Linked DNA regions of Homo sapiens: region 1 is linked to region 2. Evidence: promoter capture Hi-C in 16 types of primary human blood cells and fetal thymus (Javierre and others, 2016). All regions are on one chromosome and are shown on one strand. The core of a region is centred on a gene start or on the middle of the fragment in contact, and the rest is flanking DNA. Distances in the headings are between cores, read along the strand shown.

What was found. Contacts are between HindIII fragments. The CHiCAGO score rates a contact against its expected background, and 5 or more counts as called.
Region 1: a contact is called between a fragment that was not itself captured here and the fragment with the promoter of GPR84 in region 2, in 12 of 17 cell types (neutrophils, megakaryocytes, erythroblasts and 9 more). The highest score is 9.8, in neutrophils.

The regions. Positions count from the first base shown.
Region 1 is chr12:54,229,180-54,235,518 of GRCh38, reverse strand. CBX5 (chromobox 5) reads left to right here. Exons shown (of 5, transcript NM_012117.3): 5 at 1-4,577. MIR3198-2 (microRNA 3198-2) reads left to right here and starts at 4,043; the gene lies at 4,043-4,122. The HindIII fragment of the contact is 4,657 bases long and covers 1-3,753 here.
Region 2 is chr12:54,361,731-54,367,230 of GRCh38, reverse strand. GPR84 (G protein-coupled receptor 84) reads left to right here and starts at 2,745. Exons shown (of 2, transcript NM_020370.3): 1 at 2,745-2,838; 2 at 3,372-4,786. The coding sequence starts at 3,380. The coding sequence ends at 4,570. The region is part of intron 1 of GPR84-AS1 (GPR84, ZNF385A, ITGA5 and GTSF1 antisense RNA 1); the gene reads right to left. RefSeq lists an enhancer at 2,727-2,816. The HindIII fragment of the contact is 7,569 bases long and covers 1-3,759 here.

The DNA.
Region 1 (6,339 bases), core at 176-2,675, 130 kb after region 2:
CCTCAGCCTCCCGAGGAGCTGGGACTACAGGCGCCGGCCACCACGCCCGGCTAATTTTTTGTATTTTTAGTAGAGACGGGGTTTCACCTTGTTAGCCAGGATGGTCTCAATCTCCTGACCTCATGATCCACCCACCTCGGCCTCCCAGAGTGCTGGGATTACAGGCGTGAGCCACCGCCGGGCCGAGAGGGTGATTTCTAAGCAGAGAATTGTATCAGTTATGTGGAAACCTTTGCCAGAAATACATATACCTTGTATATTAAATCTGAGTCTCAGATTTAATCATCGAAGCGTAGCTGGGTTAAGAAACAGTCTGATCGTAAGGATGTTGTCGATTCTGACCCATGGATGACCACAAGAAAAAGATATTTATTTCTGCCTGGATAATTGAGAGTTGACTAACTTTGGAAGTCAGAATTCCCAGGAATTAGAGTAACTGCTCTGGAAAGTTAAAGTGTGAAGTTTTTTAGATAGTTTCATAAAAACAATTCTGGTTTCTTTTTGCTTGTGCTGACTTTCTTGGATTTTAATCTACCTCATCTTGTCTTTTTAGAGTTACTTCAACTTGTCACTTTAACATTGTGCTTGACTTTGGTTGTTTTCTAAGATGGAATTTTTCCTGTTCATTGACAGCTTGTTCTCTTGCCTTTTCATTCTGATCCTCATTTCATCTAACATCATCTCATATTGCTCCTCTGTCAAGAGAAATGTTTTAAAATAGTTTAAAGTCTTGTTTTATGGGAAGAAAGTGATCCTCCAATGCTATTTGTTTCTGAGGTCAGTAAGAGAAGGAGTTAAAACAAGGCAGTGGGGAAGGGAATGAATCCTGCACTGGAGGCAAAAGCTGACAAGGAAAGAGCCATTAATTAAGACAATTTCAAAGTCAACTGATTGTGATCATTAATGTCACAATAGATCAAAACCTAATTATCACAGCCTAGGTAAGAGCCATCAGTATTAATCGGAAAATCTAATAGGAAACTATTATCAAGAAATTAGGCCAAATTGAATGCAGTGAACTTTTTATCTTGGCATTCTCTATTTTTTTGTGATGTCCCCTGGCATTGGCAGGTGTGACCCTAACAGTCGATTCAAGGCCAAGTGGTCAGTTTGTCAGCCTTTTTTAAGGGATTTCTTTTTATTTTTAGGAATTCCAAACAGAGTTAACCTAAACTGTCATTGCCAAAAGATCAGTCTTAAACTTTCTTAGCACCTGTACCTGTTTAATGTGATCAGCTATCAGTGAGGAAAAAAAAAAAAATCTATTTAGGTCTTGGAATGGTTCCTGTACCTAGAGTATCCATATTGAACCTTTTTTTTTTTTTTTTTTTTTTTTTTTTGAGATGGAAACTTGCTCTTTTGCCCAGGCTGGAGTGCAGTGGCGTGATCTTGGCTCACTGCAACCTCCGCCTCCCGGGTTCAAGCAGTTCTCTGCCTCAGCCTCCTGAGCAGCTGGGATTATAGGCGCCTGCCACCATGCCCGGCTAATTTTTGTATTTTTAGTAGAGACAGGGTTCACCATCTTGGCCGTGCTGGTCTTGAACTCCTGACCTTGTGATCCGCCTGCCTCGGCCACTCAAAGTGCTGGGATTGCAGGCGTGAGCCAGCACCCGGCCACAGTATCTTTATTACAGCTCACTGCAGCCTCAATCTCCTGGGCTCAAATGATCCTCCTGCCTCAGCCTCCCAAGCAGCTGGGACTACAGGCGCACACCACGGTGTCTGGCTAATTTTATTATTTAAAAAATGTTTTGTAGAGACAGTCTCCCTGTGTTGCCCAGGCTGGTCTCCAACTCGTGAGCTCAAGTGATCCACGTGCCTCAGCCTCCCAAAGTGCTGGGATTACAAGCATAAGCCACCGCACCCGGCCCCTAGTGAACATTTTACTGTATGTGTTGATAAATCATCTTTTGAGTTTCTGTTGTATGTGGGGACTTCCTACACTGGCTGCTGTGAAGAGGTATGGAAGAAAGGAGAGGCTTTCTGCCTAGAAATTCTTTGAGAACACCTGAAAAGACAGTTTAATCATGTCACAACACTCTTAAGGCTCAAGTCAGTGTTCTGGTTTCCGGTAGCTTTAGGATTGGATTCTAAACGAGGGCTGGTGGTGAGTTTGGTGTTTGTCTCGTGTCACCCTCACCCCTCACCTCCTCAGTTTAGGATAAGAGACATAATGATTTCTACCAGAATCCAAAGTAAATCCAAAGGGGGAGAAAAGACATAACTGTTTTTTCTTCTACCTTTTTTTTGTTAAAGAGTTACATCTCTCACAGGAGGAAAGAATTCAAGAGTCTATATGATTAGTTACAGAGAATATTTTCATCCCCTCTCCCTGAATAGAAAAGCAGGGGTCACCATTTGTATCCTTACCCTTGAGGTGTTTTTGAAGATGCTGTAACTCTTGAAGTTGAGCTGAGGCAGAAAGGTTGGAAAAATGCAGCCCTCTGGGTATTGTGGGGAGGGATGTGATGTAGTAAGAGGGTGTTTTGTGGTGCTAGGATTCCCACGCCACCAACTTGCAGCTTTATAAGAGCGCTACCAAGAACCACCACTGGGGAAAAGGTTCTTATTCATTGTTTCTGTTGGAATGTGATCTTGCTTTCTGGATTTTAGGAATTCAGGTTACTCAGTATAAAACTCTGAGAAATCAGTGTGACTTAGTCCTTCACCTCCTAAGATAAAGTGAATATTTCTTTACAAAATAATTCATGTCCTTAATGTTAAAGATGTAATTTTATTTTCAAAACATCTATAACATGACTTTCAGAAGCAGTTCATTTTTCCAAGATTCCTCACATTATACTAGATAAATAATAGGCCCTCAGTTAATACCCTTCAGTTATTGAATTAATCTAGTTTGTGGAATGAGGTGTATCCTGCCAACTTCCCTCTGCTCCCAAGTACACTCTGAGAGGTAAAATGCTCTGGGAAATGGAACAAGAATCGAGTGGATGCTGACTCTGTGTGCCCACCTCCTCAACTGATTGATAATGGTTGACCTTGGGCAAGTCACTTCTTTCAATGCCTCAGTTCCCCATCTGTCAAATGGGGTTAATAATACTGACCTACCTCACAGGGGTGTTGTTGTGAGGCATTGTAAATCAAAGTTAATAGAATACTTCAGGGTCCTCTGTGGAGGATGTCTTGAGCCAGAGTTTAAGCCTGACACACAGGCTTTGGTCCTCACTGAGCTGTCTCCAAGACTGGAACTACTTAGTGACTCGGCAAATTTTCTGCCCCCCACCCCTCATCAAAGCTGCTAGTTCAGATGTTGACAGTGTTTTCATGAATGTTGGAATCTTACTAGTCCAGACTTACTTAGGATGTTGTTGGGGAAGGCACTTGGGATTTTCTGTGTCTTGCATTCACAGAGGGAGGCCATTTCAGATTCAAGAGCATTGGATTAGGGAATCGTGAGGCAGGGATGCTACTGCGTATTTCTCTCTGCAGGTTGGGGATTAAAGTTCCTTTCCCCATGGGTTTGAAGCAGACTCAGACTGTCTCAGGATCAAAGCAACCCTCAATGGTTTTGATTTATGTCATTGCTTACCACTCCCCAACCAATCCCAGGACAGCTGGGTCACTGTACCCCTTTGTGGTATCTGTACCTGGGCCTCTCCTTCCTCATAGGGACCAGCTGATTGAATAAATGTGACCACCTTATTTCCACCCCCCACCCCCAAAAGCTACATTGGAATTATTTTTCCTAGAAATGTGTATAACACTCAGAATTGGGCATTGATCCTTAAAGCTTCATCCCATTCACCGTATTCAACATCTGTCATCTCTTAGTGTCTGCAGTCTGAACCTAACCTTGACCTTTTTTCCCTCTGGTTTGAGAAAACTTTGGACACTATTTCTACTTGGCCAGGTGTGGGCTCAAGAGCCTTACTCTTTCCATCTCAGTTTAGGGGCGCAGCCAGCTCCTCTTCCCAATAGGGCTCTTTCTGCTTTCCCTCTCCTTGGCCCTAGATTTGTAATCCATGAAAAAGCACAAGGTCCTGGCTCCTTGCGGTCACATTCTGGTTCTCTGTGTTTTGTGGACTCTGCTCTCACTGTTCACCCAGCACTAGCAGTACCAGATGGTTCTGTGGAGTCCTGGGGAATGGAGAGAGCACAGTCTGACTCCCTGCCAAGTAGCCAGGAGTTGACTTGCCCATGGTCCGCTGGCTTTCCCACCACTTCCTACAGGATGGGATCTAAGAGACTCAAGAGCTGGGTTTCTTTCAGCACTCTGTACTGTCCCAAATAGCAAACAAATCACTTTGTAGCCAGATTTCTGAATGGAAATGAGAAATTGAATTCTCCATGGACTTTTAGGTTTATGGGGGAGTTTTAGCTGTGTTTCTTGGTTTTATTTCAGCCAAACATGTCTGCTTTTGATTTTTTTTTTAAAGTATAAGTGGTCTATATATATGTTCACCTTTTAAATGTAAATGTTTAAAAAGTAAGCATTTATGTGTTTCCATAACTGACATCTGATGCAGACCTCATTCTCTCCCCCTCTTCTACCCTCCTCTTTTCCCCCTTTTCATACTCTTGTATTGGTTCTAATAAATGGTTGCTTTTCAAATATGGATTCTGAGTGGTGGTTTAAAGATCTGGGTCTTATGCCCCTTCTTTAATTTGGGCCCTGGAGTGTCAGCTCAATTTCTGAAAGAGCAACAAGACTTGGAGAACATGGGCTTCTTTTCTAAGGATTATTGGTCTCTGACTTTCTGCAAATAACCACAGGTTGGCGCAAGCCTGAGGAAATAAGATAATGCGTATCCTGTTTCCTACTCTTATTTCCTTAACTGGTTCAGTGTGTACCTTTCCTGGTTTCCATGCTCTTCTCTGCTCCTAATGGTTCAGAGAATAAATATTAGGCTTCAGCAACCTAGGGATCCCTGGAAGAGTCATCTCATGGCTATTAGAACTTATGGAATACCACATCAAGCAAATGCAGTCTAAATCAGGTTTGAAAATATGTGAATTTGTAAACTTTGTATTTTATCTTTCTGATTTGCTTCACAAATACCAAAGAAACTTCTCTGAGGATGGAAGGCTTGCAGGTCAGGAACATGGTGTGAGGTCAGTTGGAAGTTAGGAGGAGGAAAGTATGTGGATAATCAAGAAATTATCGAATAATATAAGCCTGATGTAGCCCTGAATCTAATGGAGATAGGCAGAAACTCACAGAAGAGAGAAGTGAGGAAGATGAAGGGGTCACCAAACCCAGATATCCTCCCACTGATATGTGAGGCCTCTGGAGCGGAGCACTTGTTTCTACCATCTCTTACCTGCAATTCTCCCCTCTTGTTTTCCTTTCTTGCTGAGTTATAGGGTCTCCCCAGTCTAATCTCGTAAAGTCTTATGAAGACATCTGTAGGTTGGCTGGCTTAATGGTCCATGACCTCATAAACATGGGACAGGAGAGCCATTTGGTCCACTTCAGAGCCAGACCCTTCTGGACATTATTTATTTCCTACCATGGAAGCCTGAGACTGCTTGCCCTCTTCCCTTTCGATCTCTTTCTTGCTCTCTAAACATCATGTCACTTTGTCTCTGTCTCAGGCCCACTGGAAAGCACAACTCCAGGGTTTTGACACCCACGCTTGTATTCCTAAACTATGTCTTGGTTTTTGTTTCCCTCAGTGAGGGGCTGTGCCTGCATGGCGTTCATTCAGATGACCTCATCATTGCTCATAGCTCTCCTCCCAGGAATCTTGCCTCAGTGTGCTGGAGAAGTCAGGAACTGGGCAATTTTGCCTCTCCTTTTGTCTTCATTAAAGAGCTTCAGAGCTTGTGAAATCAGTGCAGCACTGGCAGCCTGGGGAAAATGGAGGATCACTGTGTGGGAATCCCCTTCATTGGATCACTGAGCACACAGTTCTATGTTTTTCTTTTTTTTTTTTTTTGAAATGGAGTCTCGCTCTTTTGCCAAGGCTGGAGTGCAGTGGCGTAATCTTGGCTTACTGCAACCTCTGCCTCCCAGGTTCAAGCGATTCTCCTGCCTCAACCTCCCGAGTAGCTGGGACTACAGGCGCCCACCACCACACCTGGCTAATTTTTGTTTTGTTTTGTTTGAGACAGAGTCTTGCTCTTGTTGCGTAGGCTGGAGTGCAATGGCATGATCTCAACTCACTGCAACCTCCGCCTCCCGGGTGCAAGCGATTCTCCTCTCTCAGCCTCCTGAGTAGCTAGGATTACAGGCGTGAGCCACTGTGCCCAGCCTAATTTTTTTTTTTTTTTTTTTTTTTTTTTAGTAGAGACAGGGTTTCCCCATGTTGACAAGGCTGGTCTCGAACTCCTGACCTCAAGTGATCTGCCCGCCTCGGCCTCCCAAAGTGTTGAGAT
Region 2 (5,500 bases), core at 1,496-3,995:
CTCATGCCCTTTGTTGGCTTCTACCTGAACCTCTGCGCCTCTACACATACTGTTCTCTTTGTCTAGAATGTCCCTCTACTTATCTCCCAAAAAACTCTCCTGTTCATCATTCAGAATGCAGCTCAGTAACCTCTCTGTGAACCCTTTCCTCACCTCCTACTTAATAGTATGCTCCTTTTCTCTAAGCCTCTGATATATCATTCTGGGTTGTTTTGTTTTGTTTTGTTTTGTTTTTTGAGAAAGAGTTTTTGCTCTGTTGCCCAGGCTGGGGTGCAGTGGTGCAACCTCGGCTCACTGCAACCTCCGCCTCCTGGGTTCAAGCGATTCTCCTGTCTCAGCCTCCCAAGTAGCCAGGATTACAGGTGCGCACCACCACGCCTGGCTAATTTTTGTATTTTTAGTAGAGACGGGGTTTCATCATATTGGCCAGGCTGGTCTCGAACTCTTGACCTCAAGTGATCTGCCCGCCTTGGTCTCCCAAAGTGCTGGGATTACAGGTGTGAGCCACTGCACCCAGCCATGTATTTTTTGTTTGTTTTTTGTTTGTTTTTGAGACGGAGTCTCGCACTGTCACCTGGGCTGAAGTGCAGTGGCGCGATCTCGGCTCACTGCAACCTCCACCTCCTAGGTTCAAGAGATTCTCCTGCCTCAGTCTCCCAAGTAGCTGGCATTACAGGTGCCTGCCACCACACCCAGCTAATTTTTTGTATTTTTAGTAGAGACGGGGTTTCATCATATTGGCCAGGCTGGTCTTGAACTCCTGACCTCAAGTGATCTGCCCGCCTTGGCCTGCCAAAGTGCTGGGATTACAGGTGTGAGCCACTGCACCCAGCGATGTATTTTTTGTTTGTTTTTTGTTTGTTTGTTTTTGAGACGGAGTCTCACACTGTCGCCCGGGCTGAGGTGCAGTGGCACCATCTCGACTCATTGCAACCTCTACCTCCTAGGTTCAAGCGATTCTCCTGCCTCAGCCTCCCAAGTACCTGGGATTACAGGCGCCTGCCACCACGCCCAGCTAATTTTTTGTATTTTTAGTAGAGACGGGGTTTCACTATGTTGGCCAGGCTAGTCTCGAACACCTGACCTCATGATCCACCTGCCTCGGCCTCCCAAAGTGCTGGCATTAGAGGCATGAGCCACTGCGCCCAGCCTGTTAGTTTGTTTTTCTAATTTTTCAGAGACAACGTCCTGCTGTGTCACCCAGGCTGGAGTATAGTGGCACAATCTTTCTCACTGTAGTCTTGACCTCCCAGACTCAAATGATCCTCCCACCTCAGCCTCCCCAGTAGCTGGGACTACAGGTGCACATCACCACAGCTGGCTATTTTTTTTTTTATTGTAAAGACAGGGTCTCACTATGTTGCCCAGGCTGGTCTTAAACTCCTGACCTGAAGTCATCCTCCCAGCTCAGCCTCCCAAAGCATTGGGATTACAGGCATGAGCCTCCAAGCCAGGCCTATATAGTATTTTAAAGCAAGCCTCAGCAAACTTTTTCTCAAAGGGCCTGATTATAAATATTTTAAACTGTGTTAATCAAGAGATAAAACTGAGGATATTACATAGGCACTTATATAACAATTTAAAATATAACCATTTTTATTTTACTTACTTATTTATTTATTATTTTATTTTTTGAGACGGAGTCTTGCTCTGTCATCCAGGCTGGAGTGCAGTGGTGCAATGTGATCTTGGCTAACTGCAAGCAACCTCCGCCTCCCGGGTTCAAGCGATTCTCTTGCCTCAGCCTCCCTAGTAGCTGGGATTACAGGCGCACCCATCACGCCTGGCTAATTTTTGTATTTTTAGTAGAGACGGGGTTTTACCATGTTGGCCAGGCTGGTCTCGAACTCCTGACCTCAAGTGATCTGCCCTCCTTGGCCTCCCAAAATGTTGGGATAATGGGCGTGAGCCACTGCACCTGGCCTAAAATATAACCATTTTTAAATGGAAAAAAAACATGATTGGGTCACAGGCTATACAAAAACAGCAGACTAGATTTGGCCCATAGGGTGAAGTTTACTCACCCTTGCTCTGGAGAATCGATTAAGCATTTGCATATTTATGTATCTGTCTCCCCTAGTAGACTATGCACAAGGCCATATATCAGACGTTCTTGTATCCCCAGTGTCTAGATCAGAGTCTGGTGTATAGTAGGCACTCAGTACTAAGTTGTTGGGTAAATGGATAAATGAATGATTGAACAGGACCCTGATCCCTTGAGGAGAATGAAACCAGAATTCTGGATGCCTCATTCCCCACTTTTCTTCATCTGACTTGGTTTCTCAAATGTGCTAGGGTGTCACATGGGTCCCTCTGACTTGAACCATGTCTAAGCCGTGGAGACAAGAAAGGTAGTGCTCCTCTGAAACAAACCCAAGGCTTCTGGGGGTACCTAAAGTTGCTCCTGGAACTTGGTCTTATCTTTTGGCCCTTTGAGGAGTGGCCCAAATGTTCTGATGCTCTGACTCCGTGCCCTAGCAATTCTTGGCAATGATCTTACAGATGAGTTCTGCCATGCAAAGAGGGGAAGAAAACAGAGTTTGGGTTTCAGGAAGGAGAAAGGAAGAGTGAAACCACTCTGAGGTAAGTAGCGGGGGACTTTCAACAGAGAAGCCTAGATTTCACTAGCCGAAGCAAAATGAGTAGGACCGGAGGTGGTGAAGGAAGTGGCTGGGATTGGGTAATGGGGGAGTTTCTTATTCTTTCAGTGGACTATAATAGGATACATAAGAGCAGGATGTCTCCTGCTTGAAGCCTAACTGTCCACCAGAAAGGACTGCTCTTTGGGTGAGTTGAACTTCTTCCATTATAGAAAGAATTGAAGGCTGAGAAACTCAGGTAAGCACTTTTGTTGTGGGTATACTTTTACCTTCTTGGTCTCCTCATCTCCCAGGTGGTAACAAACAGAAATGACTAAAGCCTATATGTGTGTGTAGTGGAAAGGAGCAGAGGGAACTGAATACAGAGAGGATCCTGAATACACGATGCTGAATAGAGAGAGGGGACTCCTGGGGGTCTTTGGGGATGGGGAAGGAATTAAAAAAGTTGGAGGGCACTGGGTTTACTGAGAGCAGCGGGATGGATATAGAAGAGGACTGAGGTTTGGAGCAGAATAAGACTAAGATATTTAGGCAAGAGATATTTAGATAAAAACTTGGGGAAATATTTGAGAATGGGAAAGGACTAAGAGAACCTAAGGAGAGAGTTAGGGATCTTGAGATGAAGAGGCCTGGGAATGGTTCAGGAGGATACTGAATTAAGGTGAGGTCCAGGAACAGTTTAGATGTCCAGGGTCCCAGAACTGTTCAAGAGATCTAAGTTGAATGCTAGGTTCTGATTCCCTCTTCCTCTTCCACCCTCTGCCTCTTTAGCCTCTATCATGTGGAACAGCTCTGACGCCAACTTCTCCTGCTACCATGAGTCTGTGCTGGGCTATCGTTATGTTGCAGTTAGCTGGGGGGTGGTGGTGGCTGTGACAGGCACCGTGGGCAATGTGCTCACCCTACTGGCCTTGGCCATCCAGCCCAAGCTCCGTACCCGATTCAACCTGCTCATAGCCAACCTCACACTGGCTGATCTCCTCTACTGCACGCTCCTTCAGCCCTTCTCTGTGGACACCTACCTCCACCTGCACTGGCGCACCGGTGCCACCTTCTGCAGGGTATTTGGGCTCCTCCTTTTTGCCTCCAATTCTGTCTCCATCCTGACCCTCTGCCTCATCGCACTGGGACGCTACCTCCTCATTGCCCACCCTAAGCTTTTTCCCCAAGTTTTCAGTGCCAAGGGGATAGTGCTGGCACTGGTGAGCACCTGGGTTGTGGGCGTGGCCAGCTTTGCTCCCCTCTGGCCTATTTATATCCTGGTACCTGTAGTCTGCACCTGCAGCTTTGACCGCATCCGAGGCCGGCCTTACACCACCATCCTCATGGGCATCTACTTTGTGCTTGGGCTCAGCAGTGTTGGCATCTTCTATTGCCTCATCCACCGCCAGGTCAAACGAGCAGCACAGGCACTGGACCAATACAAGTTGCGACAGGCAAGCATCCACTCCAACCATGTGGCCAGGACTGATGAGGCCATGCCTGGTCGTTTCCAGGAGCTGGACAGCAGGTTAGCATCAGGAGGACCCAGTGAGGGGATTTCATCTGAGCCAGTCAGTGCTGCCACCACCCAGACCCTGGAAGGGGACTCATCAGAAGTGGGAGACCAGATCAACAGCAAGAGAGCTAAGCAGATGGCAGAGAAAAGCCCTCCAGAAGCATCTGCCAAAGCCCAGCCAATTAAAGGAGCCAGAAGAGCTCCGGATTCTTCATCGGAATTTGGGAAGGTGACTCGAATGTGTTTTGCTGTGTTCCTCTGCTTTGCCCTGAGCTACATCCCCTTCTTGCTGCTCAACATTCTGGATGCCAGAGTCCAGGCTCCCCGGGTGGTCCACATGCTTGCTGCCAACCTCACCTGGCTCAATGGTTGCATCAACCCTGTGCTCTATGCAGCCATGAACCGCCAATTCCGCCAAGCATATGGCTCCATTTTAAAAAGAGGGCCCCGGAGTTTCCATAGGCTCCATTAGAACTGTGACCCTAGTCACCAGAATTCAGGACTGTCTCCTCCAGGACCAAAGTGGCCAGGTAATAGGAGAATAGGTGAAATAACACATGTGGGCATTTTCACAACAATCTCTCCCCAGCCTCCCAAATCAAGTCTCTCCATCACTTGATCAATGTTTCAGCCCTAGACTGCCCAAGGAGTATTATTAATTATTAATAAATGAATTCTGTGCTTTTAATGCTCAGGTGTGGTCTCTGGGGAAGAAGGAAACAGGTCACGGTTAGGCTCAGGGGCCAGGCTAGGAGGAGACCATACTATTCCATCCCTCCTGCATGACGAAATCCTGTCACCATGTGCATGCTCACACATATCCCTAAAGCACCTGTGGCCACCAGGAGCTGGAACCTAATACCTAAGGATTCAGGGGTACCTAGGTCAAAGCAGGAGCAGGAAGCAGCTGGCCTGGGACATAGCCTTTAGAAGAGGGGTTTCTAGGTAATAAAACATGTGAGGTGATTTAAGAGGATTAGCCTGCCTTTTTGTTTAATTTCCCAGAAATGGCCTCTGCCCCTAACCACTGCTGCCAGGATCCGCCATCCCTACAAACAAGTTTATTCAGCTCAAAAAAGTTTTATAATCCAGCTTTGATATCTACTCCAGTGGGACCAGTCCCCCAGCCCTCACTCTGTGCGAAGGGAATGGTCATGGAGGAGGACTCCTTGGTCTGTAGAAATGGAACTGAGCTTAGTTAAGGCAAAGGCAGAAAAAGGTTCCAGCTGCCCTGGCAGGGTCCTGCCCATGGGGCTAATTCACCTGAGTCCCAGGCCCTCAGTTGCCTTGCATTTGTCATCTGGACTTATGAAAGCAAGAGAACAGGCCTGGTGGGGTGTCTCACACTTGTAATCCTAGCACTTTGGGAGGCGGAGGTGGGCAGATCACCTAAGGTCAGGAG